7 separate regions of the Homo sapiens genome follow, and regions 2, 3, 4, 5, 6 and 7 are each linked to region 1. The links are contacts of gene promoters, found by promoter capture Hi-C in blood cells and fetal thymus (Javierre and others, 2016). All regions are on one chromosome and are shown on one strand. The core of a region is centred on a gene start or on the middle of the fragment in contact, and the rest is flanking DNA. Distances in the headings are between cores, read along the strand shown. Region 1 holds the start of SLC18A1 (solute carrier family 18 member A1). Region 2 overlaps CSGALNACT1 (chondroitin sulfate N-acetylgalactosaminyltransferase 1). Region 3 overlaps SH2D4A (SH2 domain containing 4A). Region 4 overlaps SH2D4A (SH2 domain containing 4A). Region 5 overlaps SH2D4A (SH2 domain containing 4A). Region 6 overlaps CSGALNACT1 (chondroitin sulfate N-acetylgalactosaminyltransferase 1). Region 7 overlaps CSGALNACT1 (chondroitin sulfate N-acetylgalactosaminyltransferase 1).

Evidence for each region. The method cuts DNA at HindIII sites, captures the fragments that hold promoters and counts their contacts. A CHiCAGO score of 5 or more calls a contact.
Region 2: a contact is called between a fragment that was not itself captured here and the fragment with the promoter of SLC18A1 in region 1, in 1 of 17 cell types (neutrophils). The highest score is 6.9, in neutrophils.
Region 3: a fragment that was not itself captured here is called in contact with the fragment with the promoter of SLC18A1 in region 1 in 1 of 17 cell types (total B cells); the score reaches 6.5 in total B cells.
Region 4: a contact is called between a fragment that was not itself captured here and the fragment with the promoter of SLC18A1 in region 1, in 1 of 17 cell types (neutrophils). The highest score is 5.6, in neutrophils.
Region 5: a fragment that was not itself captured here is called in contact with the fragment with the promoter of SLC18A1 in region 1 in 6 of 17 cell types (neutrophils, monocytes, total B cells and 3 more); the score reaches 12.0 in neutrophils.
Region 6: a contact is called between a fragment that was not itself captured here and the fragment with the promoter of SLC18A1 in region 1, in 1 of 17 cell types (neutrophils). The highest score is 5.6, in neutrophils.
Region 7: a contact is called between a fragment that was not itself captured here and the fragment with the promoter of SLC18A1 in region 1, in 1 of 17 cell types (neutrophils). The highest score is 5.0, in neutrophils.

The regions. Positions count from the first base shown.
Region 1 is chr8:20,181,743-20,184,442 of GRCh38, reverse strand. SLC18A1 (solute carrier family 18 member A1) reads left to right here and starts at 1,307. Exons shown (of 16, transcript NM_003053.4): 1 at 1,307-1,380. The HindIII fragment of the contact is 10,670 bases long and covers 1-2,700 here.
Region 2 is chr8:19,599,785-19,602,484 of GRCh38, reverse strand. CSGALNACT1 (chondroitin sulfate N-acetylgalactosaminyltransferase 1) reads left to right here. Exons shown (of 9, transcript NM_001354483.2): 2 at 620-714. Among named protein-coding and RNA genes, the nearest start is that of CSGALNACT1-AS1, 77 kb to the left of the region's middle. The HindIII fragment of the contact is 213 bases long and covers 1,274-1,486 here.
Region 3 is chr8:19,351,539-19,354,238 of GRCh38, reverse strand. All of the region lies in intron 4 of SH2D4A (SH2 domain containing 4A), which reads right to left. Among named protein-coding and RNA genes, the nearest start is that of SH2D4A, 39 kb to the right of the region's middle. The HindIII fragment of the contact is 764 bases long and covers 1,016-1,779 here.
Region 4 is chr8:19,389,980-19,392,679 of GRCh38, reverse strand. All of the region lies in intron 8 of SH2D4A (SH2 domain containing 4A), which reads right to left. Among named protein-coding and RNA genes, the nearest start is that of SH2D4A, 78 kb to the right of the region's middle. The HindIII fragment of the contact is 5,990 bases long and covers 1-2,700 here.
Region 5 is chr8:19,371,333-19,374,158 of GRCh38, reverse strand. SH2D4A (SH2 domain containing 4A) reads right to left here. Exons shown (of 10, transcript NM_022071.4): 8 at 499-629. Among named protein-coding and RNA genes, the nearest start is that of SH2D4A, 59 kb to the right of the region's middle. RefSeq lists a silencer at 1,502-1,663. The HindIII fragment of the contact is 2,006 bases long and covers 419-2,424 here.
Region 6 is chr8:19,480,714-19,483,413 of GRCh38, reverse strand. All of the region lies in intron 3 of CSGALNACT1 (chondroitin sulfate N-acetylgalactosaminyltransferase 1), which reads left to right. Among named protein-coding and RNA genes, the nearest start is that of SH2D4A, 170 kb to the right of the region's middle. The HindIII fragment of the contact is 4,312 bases long and covers 1-2,700 here.
Region 7 is chr8:19,521,464-19,524,259 of GRCh38, reverse strand. The region is part of intron 2 of CSGALNACT1 (chondroitin sulfate N-acetylgalactosaminyltransferase 1); the gene reads left to right. Among named protein-coding and RNA genes, the nearest start is that of CSGALNACT1-AS1, 160 kb to the left of the region's middle. The HindIII fragment of the contact is 2,371 bases long and covers 349-2,719 here.

The DNA of each region.
Region 1 (2,700 bases), core at 58-2,557:
AGAATCTCCAGAAGGAATGCAGCCCTGCCGACACATTCATTTTAACCCGGTGTGATGTATTTTGGACTTCTGACCTCCAGAACTGCAAGATACTAAATACGTGTTGTTTTAAGCCACCAGATTGTAGTAATTTGTTACAGCAGCAAACTATAGCGATGAATACATTCTGCTGATGTCTTTGTTTCCTATCCCTATTTCTCGCTCTAGGTTTACATTTTAAAACTGTTTCCATCTAGGCCGCGCGCTGTGGCTCGCGTCTGTAATTCCAGCACTTTGAGAGGCCAAGGCAGGAGGATCACTTGAGGTCAGGACTTCGAGACCAGCCTGGCCAACATGGTGAAACCCTGTCTCTACTGAAAATACAAAAATTAGCTGAGCATGGTGGCATGCACCTGTAATCCCAGCTACTCAGGAGGTTGAGATTAGAGGATTGCTTGAACCCAGGTGGTGGAGGTTGCAGTGAGCCAAGATCATGCCACTGCACTCTAGCCTGGGTGACATAGCGAGACTCTGTCTCAAAAATAAAAAAAATAAAATTAAAAAACTATTTTCTTTTTTTTTAGCGTTAAATCGAAAGTTCCCTAGTTAATTCCCACAATTAGGAGGGGCCCACCAGTTCCACAAATAGGAAATCTCTGCACTGCTCTTGCTCGTAAAGTGTATTTGCTTTTTCATAAATTGCTTATGTTCTTTGAGCCACCAATGGTTTAATGTCAGAATAATATAGATCATTAGAGCCTCTCAAGATCCCACAAGGAACTGCACTTTCTCCTGTAGTTAACCATCCAGTCATCCATGCAAGAAATATTTATTGGATGCTACCATGTATCAGGCACTGAGCCAGTATTGAGATGTGAAGACACAGTGCATAATCTAAGCCTTTACAGAGGCCACAGATGTTGGGTTTTTATGGCTTGAGAACAACATACATTGTTTCTTTCCAGGAAGCTAATTGGGGTACATGGAGCCACTTTGACTAAGTAGCAAGGAACAGGAACTGCACACTGGTTCCATCTTGGCTTCCAATTTGTATTCAGACCCAGGCAAGAGTTAAAGAGTTCGATGATAGATAAGCACAGATGCAAAACAGTACAGTCCAGTGCCTCTTTGCTTAGGCTAATATCTGCCCTCTCTTTATCCTCTCCAGCCCTGCCTTCCTGCCTTTGACGCAGGGAGCTAAGGGTCTGAATGAACCCTGTTGGAGGTTGCAATTAAATCTTTGTGGACAAAGGCACACACACACACACATACACAGAATCCTCAGATAACAGGAGGCAATAAATCCAACAGCACATCCACGTTCAGAGAACAGTGTCCCTGCTGTCTTGCTAACAGCTGCCAATACCTCACTGAGTGCCTCACACCAACATGGGCTCCAAGGTAAGATTTTTCTCTCTCCGGACAAATTTAATCTTTCCTTGTGATTTGTGTCTCTGTCAGAGGATTTTGACTGTTAAGTAAAGTTTACTATTGATTTGTTGGCAAATTCCTGGTTTTGTTTGTTTTTGTTTTGGGATTTGGGTGTGTGTGTTTCTCTCTCTTTGTAGTACTTACTTCACTCACTATGTTTTTTAATTTTCCATGGCTTGTCTTTTATTCTTATCCATACATATCCTAAGTCAATTTGTATTCAGAAATACCTCCTTTATATAGAGAAATGAAGGATCTTAAGTAATTGCATGCATTTACTGGTTAAAACTTAACTGAGAATTTGGTTCACTTAGGACCTTGGTCACGTTAATATGTAGTAGTGAGAGGGTTCTTCCAGCCCTGGGCTTAGAACAGAGTACCTCAGTGTTTGGGGTACTCCCAACACCTGAGGCTGACTATTGAATTTCAGTGATAATCATTTAAAATTATTTACTTCTTTAATTACAAAAGTAGCTCATTATTGAATATTTAGAAATACACAGAAGATAACTGAAGTCATTGATTATAAATAACTGGCATTTGAGTATCTCTCTACTCTCTCAAAAATGTGCCCATATATTTATATTTAGACAATTGAGATAAAGTTGAAAACACAGTTTAATTTCCCTTTTTTACTTAACGTTATAGTAATAGTATTTTCTGTATCATTAAAATTATTTGAAAATATAATTTTTAAGAGCCGCTTAATAATCCACCATTAACATGTTTGACTTTTTTCACTAAGAAAAATAATTCTGCAATTGATCATTTTGAGTATAAGTCTTTGGCTGCATCTCTGACCTTTTTTCTTTTGTAGGATGGGTTCCTTGTAGTAGAGTTACTAAGTCAAAGAGTATACAATTTTTAGGGCCTGATAGATTTCATGATGGTAATCTATTTTAAAATTTAAATGAGTGATATTGTTGATACCACAACAGAAGCCACGTCAAAGAAAATGAAATTCTCCCCAGAAACTCTTATTACTTGAAGTTTGACAAGGTACTGTGACTTAATGCTGACTAATGATATGAAATCCTGAATAGAGAACTAATCATGAAAGTCAATATTTTATTTTCACAGATGAAGGCATCTTTCTGATCAGGGGTTTGTAGCTCAAACAAAAGAATGAGCGTGCTTCTAGAACCACAGAGCAAGGGAACATGGTAGAGGATAAGCTGGCAAGTTGAAAAGCGTGGGATTTCATCCCAGTTTGACACTAACTGTGCAACCCCAAACAAATCTCCTAACCTTCAGAGGCTCGGATTTCTTGTCTATGAGATGAAGGTTGGT
Region 2 (2,700 bases), core at 131-2,630, 580 kb after region 1:
GTCCTCACCAGCGGCGTTGTGCGGCGAACCCTGCGGTGCTTCGGGAAGGCGGTCGTTCCTCCCTGCTCCCACCGTTTTCCAGCGTGTGCGCTCTTACCTTCTCTGGGGAAAAAAGGAAATTTTTTATTTTTTAACATTTCATTTCATGAAACCGTTTTTTTTAAGTGGTGGCGCTGAACACAGTCCTTGCAGAGGGGGGCAGCACTTTCCCTCCTGACCCCAACCTGGAAACCCCAGTGTGACTTCAGCGCTGTCAGAGCATTGGAAGCAGAGCTGCGAGTTAGGAAGCGGCTCGCTGGCAGCTGGGCACGTTTCTTTCCTGCGAGATCGGCTTTTTTGATTTGCTCTTTTTCACATGAAAATGTTCAGCTTCATTTTTAGACACCTTTAGACATGGTTATCACTGTTTAAAGCCTTGATTTTTTTTTAAACAAATAGTTTGCATTTTATTCATTGAAACAGGGAGAGAACAAATACCATCCTGCTTTTTGGGGTAATACTTTCAGATGCATTGTATTTTATATACTAAGTGATTTAAAATGTTCCCATTTTGTAATACCACATACATTTAAGACATGGAAATTTACAAGGGTTGCCTTTTGTTTTTATTTTATTTTAGCTGCCTTCCTATTTCAAGGAAAGACGCCAAGGTAATTTTGACCCAGAGGAGCAATGATGTAGCCACCTCCTAACCTTCCCTTCTTGAACCCCCAGGTAAGTGAGCATTTTCACTCAAGAAACAAACCTTTGCATGGTCTGCTTTGTGTTCAATATTCTGGATGTGTTTGAAATGTATGAAATTTCATTCTACTGTCAATAGCTTGATTAGTAACAAGTTATTACTTCAAGAGAATGATACTTCTTCCAAAATAATACAATTACTTGGCTCCATTGAATCCTTTTCATTCACTTTTTAAAGGCTGTAACATCTACATCTACATCTAACTTTCCCAACTTTTTAAGGATTTATCTCTTCTCAGAGTGGCAAGTGACTTAAACCAATCATAGAGCTGGAAGAGCTACATCTTTTTGAAACAGTTCGCTTACATAGGGACATTTGTTCTCCCATTGGAAATTGGGACAGAATACTGAGCTTTTTAAAATAGTCACCCTGTCATCAAATAGGTACTCTAATTTTGACTTTGCTAGAAAATAATTATTTAAATACCATGGTTTTGGAAATTGAAGAATGAGCTTTCTTTCTGACATATGGTGTCTTAGAGGGACACTGTCTAGAGCTCTTTGAGAATAGTGCCCTTACGGATTGGAAGCTTGGTTTTAGTCCGGGGACAAATGAAAATCTCTGGAATGTTGTTTTAGTTCTGCTCTTGTAACCAGTAATTTTGAGTTTCTATGCAATAAGATGTTTTATTACATCTGATAAGACTAAACTTAAAAAATACAAAATAAAACAAGTACTGTAAAATATCATTAATGTTGACATGCGATGGTATGAAACAGGAAGCTGTATATATGGTTCCAAGCTTCAGCAGAGAGTCTTTTTTTTTTCTAGAAGTAATTCAATAGGCATAAAAATGAAAATAGGTAAGCTGCACTCAGCATATACATATCTTCAGAAAGCCCCCTTCACCTTCCTCCTTCATTTAACAAATGTCTATAGAGGTTTGCTTGATGGTTTTGCTTTTTTTTTTTTTCCAAAAACTTTTGTCACACTATTAAGATAAAATAATGGAAGCCAGAGTAGTTAATGATTTGATTTTGCATTAATGAACTGCCCTGTACTTAAATGAGGGTGTGTGGAGTTTCATAAAGAACTGTATTTCAGTTACTAACAATAGAAAAAATAAAAAAAACCTTGGCTGAAAGTTAATAATACAAACAAAAATAACTGAAGGAGAATTCCTCCCAAATCCTTTCCTAAGTAGAAAGTCAAGTGGTTAAGAGGCTTAAGTAATTCAGGGTCAACTTGAAGGGCGTATGGAACTGTCCTAATCTTGGGCCTTGTGATGTTTAATGTTTTTGAGAATTACTTGGATGATACAAAAGAGAGCAATGTCATTACAACCCCATGTAGACCATAATTAGTAAGACCTTGAGATAATGCCAGAAAACAGTCAAAATAAACTTTACAAAATAGAGAAGTAGGCTGGGTGCGGTGGCTCACTCCTATAATCCCAGCACTTTGGGAGACCGAAGCAGGTGGATCACAAGGTCAAGAGTTCGAGACCAGCCTGGCCAATATGGTGAAACCCCATCTCTACTGTAAATATAAAAATTAGCCAGGCATGGTGGTGCATACCTGTAACCCAGCTACTAGGGAAGATGAGGCAGAAGAATCGCTTGAACAGGGGAGGTGGAGGTTGCAGTGAGCCAAGATGACGCCATTGCACTCCAGCCTGGGCAACAGCAAACTCTGTCTCTAAATGAATGAATGAATGAATGAATGAATGGTGAGCAGCAATTGACCAAGAATGAACCATGGTGGAGCAAGCTCTATGAAGGATATGTTTAACACACAAGGCTATCCCTACTGCACAACTTATGGCCTAATGCTACTAAATGTTTGAATGGAACAATTAACTCCCCTTGCTGGGATCCTGTGATTGCCAAGCATGCACTGGGTGTGGGGTAGGTTTGTCTGCCCAAAAAGAAAGGAAACAACTCATTTGCTGTCTTCTCAATGTGCACGTTGGTTTCTTTCAAGTCTGGTGAAGTTCTGCTGCTGAAGGATGTTCAAGC
Region 3 (2,700 bases), core at 148-2,647, 830 kb after region 1:
ACCTGAGGTCAGGAGTTCGAGACCCGTCTGGCCCACATGGTGAAACCCCATCTCTACTAAAAATACAAAAATTAGCTGGCATGGTGGTGCATGGTGGCACATGCCTGTTAATCCCAGTTATTCGGGAGGCTGAGACAGGAGAATCACTTGGACCTGGGAGGCAGAGGTTACAGTGAGCTAAGATTGTGCCACTGAACTCTAGCCTGGTGACCGTGAGACTCCGTGTCAAAAAAAAAAAAAAAAAAATTAGTTGAAAAACCACTCGAGAGATGAATCCTTCTATTTAAACACTTCTATTCAATGTGTCTAAAACATACTGTAAACTCTAAAGCTATTCACACATACTAAGAACCACATTTATAAAAATTCTACTTTTCAAGGTGAACCAAGATTTTGCCATTATTCTAAAGGGTTAAAATAACATGAAAAACTTAAAACTTGCAGAAAGCAGGCTCATTTAGATACACTTACACGTTCTACAAATCCATGATATGCACAAGTAATAGAGTGAAAATGTGGGATCCAAAAGTTATTTCCTTTATTAAAAAAAAAAAAAAAAAAAAACAGCTAGAGGCCAGGTGTGGTGGCTCACGCCTGTAATCCCAGCACTTTGGGAGTCTGAGGTGGGCAAATCACAAGCTCAAGAGATCCAGACCATCCTGGCCAACATGGTGAAACCCCATTTCTACTAAAAATACAAAAATTAGCCGGGCGTGATGATGCGCACCTGGAGTCCCAGCTACTCAGGAGGCTGAGGCAAGAGAATTGCTTGAACCCAGGAGGCAGAGGATGCAGTGTGTCAAGATGCTGCCACTGTACTCCAGCCTAGGTGACAGAGCAAGACTCCGTCTCAAAAAAAAAAAAAAAAAACTAGATGATTAATGGACTCAAAAGTAATGACTTATGATGGCAATATCAGAGGGTATACCTCAGTAATACCACTGCCTCTTTGAAGCACTCCTAGAGGCAGGATGAAGAGGCTTTTCAAAGAGGGTACCATGTCCTCTCTGAAGCTTCCATATGCTGCTATGACCCAGGAAATATACTCTTTAGTTATCTCTATACCAAAAAAGGGAAGAAAATGACCCTCCTACCTGTATAATTTTTGCTTATAAAGCACTTTGAAGTCTAATACATCATTGACCTTCATATTAGGTGTCAAAATAGGCCTTATCCCTTTACCAAAGAGGTAAGGTAACCTGTTTTATTGGTCATTGTGTTTTTGTTCTTGAGACAGAGTCTCGCTCTGTTCCCAGGCTGAAGTGCGGTGGCATGATCAGGGCTCACTGCAGCCTCAACTTCCTGGGCTCAAGTGATCCTCCCACCTCAGTCCCCCAAAGTAGCTGGGACTACAAGCATGCACTACCACACCTGGCTAAATTTTTTTTAATTTTAGTAGAGACAAGGTCTCACTATATTGCCCAGGCTGGTTTCAAACTCCTGAGCTCAAGTGACGCTCCCACCTCAGCCTCCCAAAGTGCTGAGATTATAGGTGTGAGCCGCCACACCTGGCCTAAGTTGACCTGTTAATAGGTAGGAGGACAGGGACCCAAATGCATGTCATCTCCACGTCTGAAGCCTGCTCCTTCCTCAGGGTCTCCCAGAGAGAACATATGTATGCTCTTACGCATAACAGCCACTACGGTCATCATCCATCTGCCACATTACAGAAATTCTTACAGCTGCTGGAGCTCTATGAGCAGAGTTAAAGCAATCTTATCTGCCTCATATCTGCTCTATTTAAACATAAAAACTGCCATGAATATTTATGCAAAAGCTTCCAAAAAAGAAAAACTGAAAGCTAATAACATCAGAAGCTAGTGGACTTCCTGCAGACATCAAGTCAGAATAACCCTCTGTAATCAGTGAAAATCCCAAATGGATCTGGGGGTGTACCCCATCTGATTGGCCAAAAGATAGTATGAAAAATAATAACTACCGTTAAACTTAGAAGTATGACAGTTCAAATCTACATAAGCAACTGGGTTACAAAAAGGTGCTGCTGACAACATCAGTATTACATGGTTACAAAATATGCTTCCCCCAGAGTCTGTCTGTCAAATGAGAAGAATTATGTTCACTTTTCAAACTGCTTTGAGAAACAGTTGATACTGGCTTCTAACTTAATATTCCCTTTGTTTATAAGTAGGGTTATAGGCTGGAGGCGGTGGCTCAGGCCTGTAATCCCAGCACTTTGGAAAGCTGAGGCAGGCGGATCACCTGAGATCAGGAGTTCAAGACCAGCCTGGCCAACATGGTGAAACCCCATCTCTACGAAAGTACAAAAATTAGCCAGGCATGATGGTGGGTGCCTGTAATCGCAGCTACTCAGGAGGCTGAGGCAGAAGAATCGCTTGAACCCGAGAGGCAGAGGTTGCAGTGAGCCAAGATCTCACCACTGCACTCCAGCCTGGGCGACAGAGCAAGACTCCATCTCAAAATAATAATAATAATGGTAGGGTTGTACAGTCAAACAAATGCCAAGTGTCTTTAATTCCAAATAAACCAGAAAGCTCCAACAAACAGAACATTGTCAGGACTCAATTTTTATGGTAAAGATGAAAATGAAGAATTAATAGCATAAAATCAAGAGTTTATTTTTGTTTTTGTTTTTGTTTTTTTTTGTTTTGTTTTTTGAGTCAGAGTCTCACTCTGTTGCCCAGGCTGGAATACAGTGGTGCGATCTCAGCTCACTGCAAG
Region 4 (2,700 bases), core at 188-2,687, 790 kb after region 1:
TTTATAAGGGTCTAACAGAACGCCTTGATGGTCATCCTGGGAATGTTAGATCTGGGAGGGGATTTAAAGATACTCTCCCTAGGCTACCTCAGTTTACCAACAAGGACTCAATGGCCTGGGGAGTGATTTGACTTGGTCTAGGACAGTGGTTCTCAACCACTCGGACAAAGGTGTCCGAGAGACATCTTTGGTTGTCATGGATGGAGGATGGGGTTAGAGGTCAGGGATGTTGCTAAACAGCCTATGAGACACAGAACAGCCCCACACTGCAGAGAATTATCCAGCCCCAGATAGCAGTAGTGCTGAAATTGAGACTCCCTGGTGTGGGAGGCTCAGTAATTTAGTGACAGAGCCAAGTCAGACTCAGTTCTACTCAGTTCTATAAAGTACCTTAGCCTGTAGCTATTGCTAAATGACACTACACTGGCATTTAAAGGAATAAAACTATATGTGTGTCTTTATATACACATATGAAGTTATATATAGACATAGCTTAGATGCCTCAGGAATTCACACTCTTACTCCAGACCAGCCTTTTCCCCAGTTAGTCCAAACTCATGAGGTCTGACTCATGTTCCAAATTTTTTATTCCCATCATAATCCATCAATGAATAGATAATGCTGTAAAACTCACAGAGTAGAAACGCATCTTGGAAAGATGGGGAAGTCAATGAATTATTCAGTGAGCTGAGATCTGGGAGGGAGGAGCAGCGTTCTACGCGTGCCCTTTTTCATTTCAGCAAAGCTCTTGCCTTCTCTTGTTGGCTCCCTGTTGATACTCAGTACCTTATTATCAGGAAAACAAAACAATAACAGAACCACCTCAGGAAAAGGCAAGGGGCTGCCATAGCCCTTTTGTCTTGTTAGTACAGCTAATTGAGAAGTGAACTCTCTCCAGAGTAAAATAAAACCATGTCTGTTCTCTTTTCTGTAAACAGACCCTTGAATGACAGGAGGATTTTAAAAATTGTCTGTTTTCTTCTAGCCAAGATCATCCAACCAGACCTTCTCCTGCTTCCTATTTAGGAGAACACAGACCCCAGGTGTCCCACTGCAGAGTCCCAGTGTATGAAGGTCAACCCAGTGTGAGACCTCCAGGTAAGAGCTGGGAGTGGGTGAAAAGGCCAGTCTCCCCGACTTGCAGATAGTCAACATCCTCGAAACAGACCAGGGCCTTGCTCCTAGGGGCAGTGGCTCTATTACACTCATTCCCAGCAGACGACTGATGCACATGCATTGCATGTATCATGTCCAGTCGCTTTTCCACCCCTTCCCTGCTGAGACAGACCCATGGAACACCGTAGGTACCATGGACACAGAAAGCCTCTTGGTTCAGATGCTCCACTATCCCCATGAGGTACTCAAATCATGGCTAAGTTCCAACAGATACGGGCTGCTCCTTCTGTTTGTCTATTTCCCCTTCCTAAGCATACCTGGTCCCATTGATAAATTACAAATGACAACCATACGTTGAAACAAGGCGCCAGGTACCAGCCCATGCGGGGACTGCACATGGCAAATCTCTAAAGACACTGTATGAGACTGACTCCGAAACCCAGGGATGTTTTCAATGACCCTGAAAAGTCCCCTTCAGAAACAAGGAGCCACGACCGGAGGAGAAGCAGCATCTTGGAAAAAGATCTCTCCCTCCTCCTAGGCTGACGGCTCACTATGAAATTCCAGGCTGTTTCAACAGATGGGGCAGGTGTTACAATTTATGACATCTGGAAATTATCCAGATGAATCTGGATTCCTAAAATTAAAGCTATTCTGGAAATTTATAACCAAACCTCGGCTAAGTAAGGTCAAATTCCTTTTAAAATGAGGTCGTAGTGACTGTAACTGAAACTTTCCAAAAGCCCCTTAGCCTTACGCATAGATCTTGGTGCCATCTAATCTCCTGGGACACCAGGACCCAATCAATCATGTTGATGGCAAAGCACAGGTCATAGTGGAGACTCCTTGTACACCATGGGACAGAGGGCAGGTTCCAAAGGGCAGTGCCCTGGAGCCTAGGCTTTGAATGATCCAAGTGGTAGTTTGTCTTTGCTTTTTTTGCTTTGTAAGAGGATTACTATTCCTTAATAGCAAACTGGCTTGGTGCAGCTAAATACACAGGTCAATGTACAGTTTGTCATGAATCCATCTGTCATGAATCCATCAGGGGCACTGTGTGCATTTGGGGTGTCCTGGCTGTGATTACTGCCAAGCAATGAGGTTCATCTGCTGGGATAGGGAATTCTTGAGCACAAAACCAAAATCTAATGTTAGATATTGATTACTGAGGACTTATTCCACGTTTTCTTTTTTTTAAACAGTCACTCAAGCTGCAGTGCAGTGGTGCGATCTCGGCTCACTGCAACTTCTGACTCCTGGGTTCAAGCGATTCTCATGCCTTAGCCTCCTGTGTAGCTGGGATTACAGGAGCCCACTACCATGCCCAGCTAATTTTTGTATTTTTAGCAGAGATAGGGTTTTACCATGTTGGCCAGGCAGGTCTCAAACTCCTGGCCTCAAATGATCTGCCCACCTCGGCCTCCCAAAGTGCTGGGATGATAGTGGGATGATAGGCGTGAGCCACTGCACCCGGCCTCAGTCAACCTAACGGTACTTGTCCCCTGCATTGCCCTTTGCACAACTCTAAGAATTCTGAAGCAGGGGTCTTCATCCCAGCCCCTAAAGGCTATGACACATTGGTGC
Region 5 (2,826 bases), core at 172-2,671, 810 kb after region 1:
TTTTCACTTCCAAGACCACAAAGTTCAACTCCTTCATTTAACAGATGGGGAAAATGAGGCTTAAATTGATTTCCTACGGAAAAAGTAATGATTTGTTCAAGGTTGCTCAGCCAGTGTCCTGTCCAGCACATTCCCACACCCATGACTGTGTGTCCCTCGGTGAAAGGAAGACGTGGCCATTTGATGGAAGTCACAAACAAGCACCCTAGTGGTAAGTCACCAGGAATGCCTCTTTGCCCTCCCATCTGATGCATTTTATTTGTGGTGATAAGTCTGCCCCACAGTGCATACAGTGCCCATGAATGCTGACTGCTTTCTAAACAGTCATGAGAATGCAGCTTACTGAGGCGTCTTTGAAAAACTGCTTTGTGAAATAATCTGAAAGACTCTTTTTGGGCAGCACCAATAAATGGAAGCTTTTATTCTGGCTTCCTGGTAGATTAGCACAGCTTCATCCGCCCTAAGACGAAACACCATTGAGGAAATCTCTGCACTCACCATGGAACCAGGGGGCTATGGTGTCTGAGGTTTTCTGGTAGCCCGCTCGAAGTGGTAGCTGCTCCTCTTTAAACCACCGGATGATGTCCTCTTGGGCAGAGCTGGACAGTGTCCTCACCACTCCCTGATTTCTGTTATTTATAAAAGTTTTTCAAGTTAGATTTAACTAATTTGAAAATAATGCCCTCAAAAGTCATATATATATATATATATATACACACACACATACATATACATGCATATATATACATGCATGTCTGTAGACACCAGAGGTGCTTTATACATGCAAATATATATACATATATATATATATACACATGTGTGTGTGGGGGTGGGGGGAGAGAGAGAATGGGAGGGAGAGGGAATTATACACATTTCCAGATCTAATTCAATGACCTCAGCTAACAGGAGGCTGGAGCCCTGACACACTACCATTATACACCTCCTCAAGGGCAGAAGAGGAAGGAATATAAATCTGTCACTTGTGCTTCCAGTCTTAAAGGGCTAGTTATAGAAATGAGCCACTGCTGTGTTAACACACAGATTTAAGTTCATTTGTATAGGAATTATAAGCTCCATTAACTTCCAATTAACATCTGAGAAAATAAGCATTAAAAGGCAAAATACACTTTTACCCCAGCACATTTTCCTGGAAAGCAGGTATTTGCAAACAATAGAAATCAAATGCAATAAGATAGATTTCTTTCCTAATGTTTGCATTATTTGATTTTCTCTTCTCTTTCCACTAACCTCCCTGACTTGCTTTATCCTCTTCCACACTTTGATGACATTTAGTTCTGCTAAAAAAAAAAAAAAGTAAAGAAATACAAAGTAAAAGGAAGAAGAGTATTTGAAGTTTGAAAAGACAAAGATACAGGCAGCAGAATCATTTTGAAATAGATTCAGTAGCAGAACCTAAGTTCTAGGATGTAAGTCAATTTCTACTACAAAGAGTAACCTTGCAATGTAATAAACAGACTTCCAAGTCCTACTCAACAGCGTACTAATTTTGAGCAGAATTCAATTTAAACACAACAACACCACTGCAGTCAGTGAACTATCCTGTCTGTAGAGGCACCTGCTGGGAGACAAGCGTCTATCTGAGCCAATGAGATGTGCTCTCCAGCCACTCTCCAAAAACAGATGCTGATGGGGTCCAATATCAGCTCCATCCCCTCCCACCACTAAAGCCAAGGAAGTATCCATTCCCTGCAGGGATGCACTAGGAGACACACTTGTCTGGGTCATTAAAACAGTCTTCTGTACTGGAGTCCCTGACCAGCTTTCCCACACAGCCCCTGTACCCTCCTTGAGTTCTTCCTCAGGTCCATCAGGGAGGGAGAGCTGTGTAAATCATAGAGCCCTTGGGAGAGCTGCAGCAAGCCTGGACTTGGAGCGCCCTCTAGTGCTGAGATGGCTGCAGTGGTCACAGGCTCAGGAAACAATTTAAGAATTCTAAGTTGCTTTAGAATTTCTGGAAGGGCCTCTGAAAGACAGGCACAAATAAAGCCAGGCTGTGGAGAGTGGAATAAAAGCCTAATCCTTAAATGTGCAGATATTGTCACACATACACAAGCATCAAGAAGACTCAGGACAATATGACCTCACCAAGTGTACAAAATAAGATACCACAGGTCAAGCCTAAAGTCATAGAGATGTGTGATCTCTGAAACAATTCAAAATAGCTGTTTTAAGAAAGCTCAACAAACTTCAAGAAAGAACAGAGTCAATTCAAAAATTTATCAGGGAAATGTAGCAGAAAGACTGAAGTAATTTTAAAAAATCAAATCCTGGAGCCGAAAAATGCAATGAATAAAATGAAAAATGCAATAGAGGGTTTCAACAGTACACTTATTAGTGAGCCAGAAGACAGGCTATTTGAAAATACACAGAGATAAAAAAGAAAACAATGACATGAAGAAAGCTTATGGGGTCTGTGGGACAACATCAAAAGAGTAAATATTGGAGTTATTAAAGAGGGAATTCAGGAAGACAAAGGGGTTAAATGCTTATGCAAAGAAATAATAACAGAAAACTTTCCAAACCTGGAAAAAAATTAATAGCCAAGCATAGGATGATCGAAGGTCACCAGTCAGATTCAACCTACATAGGAATACCCCAAGACATATTATAATCAAACCCTCAGAGTGCAGAGACAAATAGAGGATCCTAAAAGCAGCTAAAGAAAAGCAGCAAATAACATGTAAGACAGATCCAATACACCCAGCAGCAGACTTCTCAGAAGAAACCGTATAGGCCAGAAAGAAGTGAGATGATACATGCTGAGACTGAAGGAAAAAAAAAATGCAACCCAGAATACTGCACACA
Region 6 (2,700 bases), core at 1-2,500, 700 kb after region 1:
TGGAGCATTGAGTTTGGGGTCAGGGCATGTTGAGATGAAACTTGGGGATATCACTGAGAACCAGACATAATGAAGTGCTTTAACTTCACATGCCTTTGGGCTTTGTCTTAATGAAACCAGGGAGCCATTGAAGGGCTTAAACAGAAGGGTGACATTATTAGAATTATATTTAGAAATATTGCTTTGTCTGCTCTGTTGAGAATGTATTGGAGGGACTCAGCCTAGAGGGACAAAGAGCTGTTGTTGTAATTCCAGGCTGAGACGTTACCAGCTTCATTTGTGGTAGCAGAATTAGGGATAAGAGAAGTGGGTGATTCCAGAGACCCTGAGGGATCAGAACCCATGGGGCTTGGTAATTGATCAGATAATAAATAATAGTAAACATCTATGTGAATGTCACTGTATACTGGATGTGGGATGGAGAGGGAGGTGTGAAGGATGAAGCTCAGCTCATTTAATGCTAATGCCACTCACTGCTCCTCAGAAGAGGAAGAACTAGACCAGGAGAGATGATCAGCTTAGTTGTAGGGGTGACTTTGAGCTGTCTCTGGGACACATAAAGGGAGAGGGCCAAGACAGTTGGAATATGGGTTTGGAGCTCAAAATAAAAATCAAATTTGGAGCTAAGGGGTTAGGACTTATTGATGCAAATTTAAACTGTGGAGATGGATGAGATTTTCCGTAGAAACATTGAGAGTGAAAAGCGATCTGTGATCGGAACTTTGAGGACCACCCACAATTATGTTATAGGCAGAGGAAGGGCACCCGTGATGGAAATTATAAAGGAACAGCCAAAGAGGGAGGCAGAAAGTCAGAAGGATTTGGTAACTCAAAACACAAGGAGAGAAAGCGGCTTTAGATGGAGAGTGTGGGCATTAGCATCGAATATTGAGAAAGGCAGTACGAGATAAGAATTTACAGGATCTATTGGATGTAGCAGAAGAAGTCATTGCTGGCCTGGATTGGGGAGAGAACATCATCAGTGGAGTGGTAGGGGCAGAAATAAGGTTGCCGTGGGACAAGAAAAGGAAAAAGTCCTCTGATGTTGGTTACAGAGCCTAAAACGGCACTGTCCAGCACAGTGCTGCTCCCTGCATGTGCTTATTTTAAACAAAAATTAATTAAAATCATATACAATTAAAAATGTATGTCCTCAATTTCACTAGCCACATTTCAAGTGTACAGTAGCCGTTTGACAAAATGGATTAAGAACATGTCCATTATCACCGAACATTCTGTTTCCCAGCGCTGATCTAGGTGCTCAGCGCTGAAAGAGAGGAAGGAAATGGTAGGAGCGGTAGCTGTGCTGAGCTCTAGTGTGTATACTCAGGAGTAGGGCTGTGTGTGTATTTAATCGGAGTCATGAGCGATTTGATGGAAAGAGCTGATAACGTGAAAGCATCGGTGTGTTTGCCTATGTCCTATTGAGTAGCTGCAGTATATGGAAAAAAAAGCCCCCTGCACTCCTGCCAGCATTTTGAAACCCTTAAATTATTTTGAGTACTTCTAAGTATTCAAAAGTTGCTTCAGTTGAGAAAATACTGTTTTATCTCTGTATCTCCATAAGTTTTAGCTTTGCACATAAGATGGGTTTGATACATGTTTGTTGGCTTAAGTCTGGGTTACTCTGGGATGTGTTCTAGTCCTGTCACCTGTGGTATAATCACAGCAACATGAGCTCAGCACTTTTTTCTATGGCCCGGGTAGAAAAGCCAGAGAGGGAGGCATTGAGGATACAGAAACGACTATGATGTCATTTTGATTATAAAATTTTGACCATAAGGATGTGTGCTTATCTCCAGTTTGGGACTTTGTTTTCACAGGGTGGTTCTAGGGTGTTCTTAAGTGTGTCCCCACTGTGATTTTGAGCTCAAGAGGAGGTTTGGGTAGACTTTGATGAAGATCTTGGGCAGGGTACTTAGCTAAAGACCTGTGATCTTTATATAAAGTCACTCCTGTCCACAGGTGTTTATCGAGCACCTGCTAAGCACCTTCCCATTTGTTAGGCCCTAGGATGTAGTCAAGATTTTTGAATAAGATGTAATTTCTACTCTGAGTTGGGAAAATGAGACGTCGTAGACACATGAAGATTAAAACAGGACCGTGACTAGCAAGGTGCCAACCAGGAGTATGGGGCAGACTATAAGGACAGACACCCAGGGCACAGAGGTCGATGGGCACAAGGCATTCAGGAAATGAGAAGACTGGCACGGTGGCAAAATAAAGTTAGAAAGGAGTAAGATGTGACTGGAAAGATGAAGGATGGTTTTATTAGCCGCACATAAGAACTGGTCATTGTAAAGCTAATGCCTGATTAATTACAGCCTTTAAAACTTGGAAAAAGACTTACACTGTGATATTTCCAGCAGTAGACAACATTTTAGGCACTTGGACGGGCAGATGACCTCATGCAATTGGAACTTGAGAAGTACACAGACCTAGGATCCCTCACTCTCGTAGGAGAGCCAAAACAGCAGGGCACAAGAGGGGAATGAGTCGATATTGCCTGGTGTTGATGCCGGGTGGAAACTTTAGAGTAACTGTTTAGAAAGAAGAAATATTCCTCGTTTTTCCTCCCAGTGTTGTTGGTGTGGCTTCTAATCTTAAAGGCAACTCACTGCTGGAGTGAGCCTGGTAGGGATAGGAAATGAGAAGAGAAATGAGCCCTTGTCTGTAAATACACGTTTTACTTCTTCATTG
Region 7 (2,796 bases), core at 285-2,784, 660 kb after region 1:
GGCTGGGGTGAGATGGTGTGATCCTTGCTGTAGCATTGAACTCCTGGGCTCAAGCGATCCTCCTGCCTCATCCTTCCAAGGAGCTAGGACTACAGGAATGTACCACAATGCCCAGCTAATTTTTATGTTTTAGAGATGGGGTCTTGCTGTGTTGCCCAGGCTTGTCTCAAACTCCTGGCCTTAAGTGATCCCCCCACCTCAGCTTCCCACAGCACTGGGATTACAGGTGTGAGCTACTGTGCCTGGCCCTGCTGCATATTTTATATCCATGATGATTTGGGTATTCTCCCAAGTTTTTCCATCTCTACCTAACAAATAATACTCAACTTGAAAGGCTCTGCAGAAGCTTCTGTGATTCTTCCAAACAGATGATCTTTCTCTCCTCTGAACTACGGCATTGTTTTGTTTATATCGCGAATGACTGATCACATTCCCTTGACATAAACATTGTTTTTAGAACTGTCCTTGCCACTCCCCATTACCCTGGTGAGGACAGGGATCTCAGCTGACCCTTCGGTTTGTCTCCTGTGATAATTGGTATGGTCCCTTCCATGCAGTAAGCATTTAATAGATATTTGATGATTACGTGAATACAATTCACATTGTTTATAACATTATTTACTGAATGCTAGAAAAGTTGTTTTCTGTTTTAATAGTACAATGTAGCCTGGGTGTGAATAGTACCATGTAGCCTGGGCGTGGTGGCTCCTGCCTGTAATCTCACCACTTTGGGAGGCCAAGGTGGGTGGATCGCTGGAGCCCAGGAGTCCAAGACCAACCTGGACAACATTGCAAGACTACGTCTCCACAAAAAGTAAAAAAAAAAAATTAGCTGGGCATCATGTCATGCATCTGTAGTCCCTGCTCCTCCAGAGGCCGAGGTGGGAGGATGGCTTGAGTCCTGGAGTTCAAGACTGCAGTGACCCATGATCGCGCCCTTGCACTTCAGCCTAGGTGACAGAGTGAGAACCTGTCTCCAAATAAGTAAGTAAAAATAGTACTGTGTGATAATGCTGTTGAGGAACATCTTACATGCCACCTTTCCTATAGAGCGAGGTGGGTGTGGCATGAGAAGGTGGTGCCCCGCCCCTCTTTCACAGGTGCTTGCTTCAGTGTAGGTCACTGTTACGTGAGATGGAACTCTGATGGTCTTGTTCCTTGTAGATTTTTGCAATGCAGTGGTGGTAATGTCCGCAATTGTTGCAGCTTCACACGAGTGTATTCAAAAGGATCATATTCCAACTTATCTTTCACATGGAGGCATTTTATGCCTCTCCTAGGCAGCCTTGAACTGAGCCTTGTTATATGTCAGGATAGTAGCATGCAGTTTGAAGAGGGAATCAGGAAACTCCGCTCACCACAGACATCTTGCAGCCTTACTTTGGGAAGAATCTTTTATTGTTTAAATTTTTTTTTGAGCCTTGGGAATGTGTCTAGTACCAGTAGCTGAAATTAGAACGTTAGTGTATTGAATCATATTTTGAGCTACTGGAAAATTGCAATTTAAAAATAACTTAGGAGGTTTTGAGATTTCTCCCAAATGTGCTTGCTGCCACTTGAAGAGTGACTTTGCAGGTCAGAACTTCACCAAGGTGTACCCAGAGTCCTTCTGGTAAGTTGCTGGTGCAGAAAAATGCTTCTGCTGCTTGCAGCCCCATGTGTACAACTATGGAATCTATTGTCCCCAGACCTAATGTCCTCCTCCACTGTGCCAGGACACTGGGCTAAGCATTTTACATACATCGCCTTTTAAAATCTCCCAGGATCCCTAATGGAATCTGTACCACTTAGTTTAAATGGCATTTTAGAGAGAGTTTTTCAAATTTACTATGGTTTTCTTTTCTTAAAATAAATGGATCTGGAGAGGTAAGAACGTGAGTTATTTTGATTTAAAATTTGGAAAGTGCAAATTTAGAGGCAAGAGATGAAGAGTCTCGAGTTCTGAGTTCTGGTTCTTACTGTGCTTTCTACCAGCTCTGTACCTGTGTATACACACCAACCATTTATTTCTTGGTGGTAGTTTTCTCATCAGCAAAGTGATGTCCATGCCACATTTCTCTCACTAATACGGTTTTGACCTTAATTTAGCTCACACTGATTTCATATTAACTCTGTTACAGGCACTATGCTGAGTACGTCATGAGGACTCTATAAGACAAGCCTTTCTGTGCTCCTCAGGTCTGGGAGACAAAGGCTTCAAGAAACCAAACAACTGCAGGGCTCAAATGGTCTCAACCTCAGAGCCTGTAATGTCAACCACTGCATTGACTGCTAGGAGAAAGGGAAATACAAGATGTGGAAGCAACTTACAACGTCAGAACAAATGGACACATGAAGTCTTACCACGACGCAGGGATTGGTAGAGCAGATGCTTGCCTGTGCAGTAATTTGAAGAATGCCAGCAGAGCTCTGTTTTCAAAGTCCCCCTCTCTTATCTTCCATTCCTGCAGGCAGAGCAAAGTTTGCAGGTCCATGAAACCAAACTTGTCTTTCTCCTAGAACTTCTCTTGTGTGTGTTATTTTTCAGTGGCAGCTCCATCCTCAGAAATGTACATGTTAAACCCTGGCGCTATTCTTCTTCTTCTTGTTTTTATTTTTTTTGGAGACGGAGTCTAGTAGTGTGATCTCGGCTCACTGCAGCCTCCGCCTCCCATGTACAAGCAATTCTCCTGCCTCAGCCTCCTGAATAGCTGGGATTACAAGCGCACACCACCAAGCTTGGATAATTTTTGTGTTTTTAGTAGAGATGGGTTTCTACCATGTTGGCCAGGCTGTTCTCAAACTCCTGACCTCAAG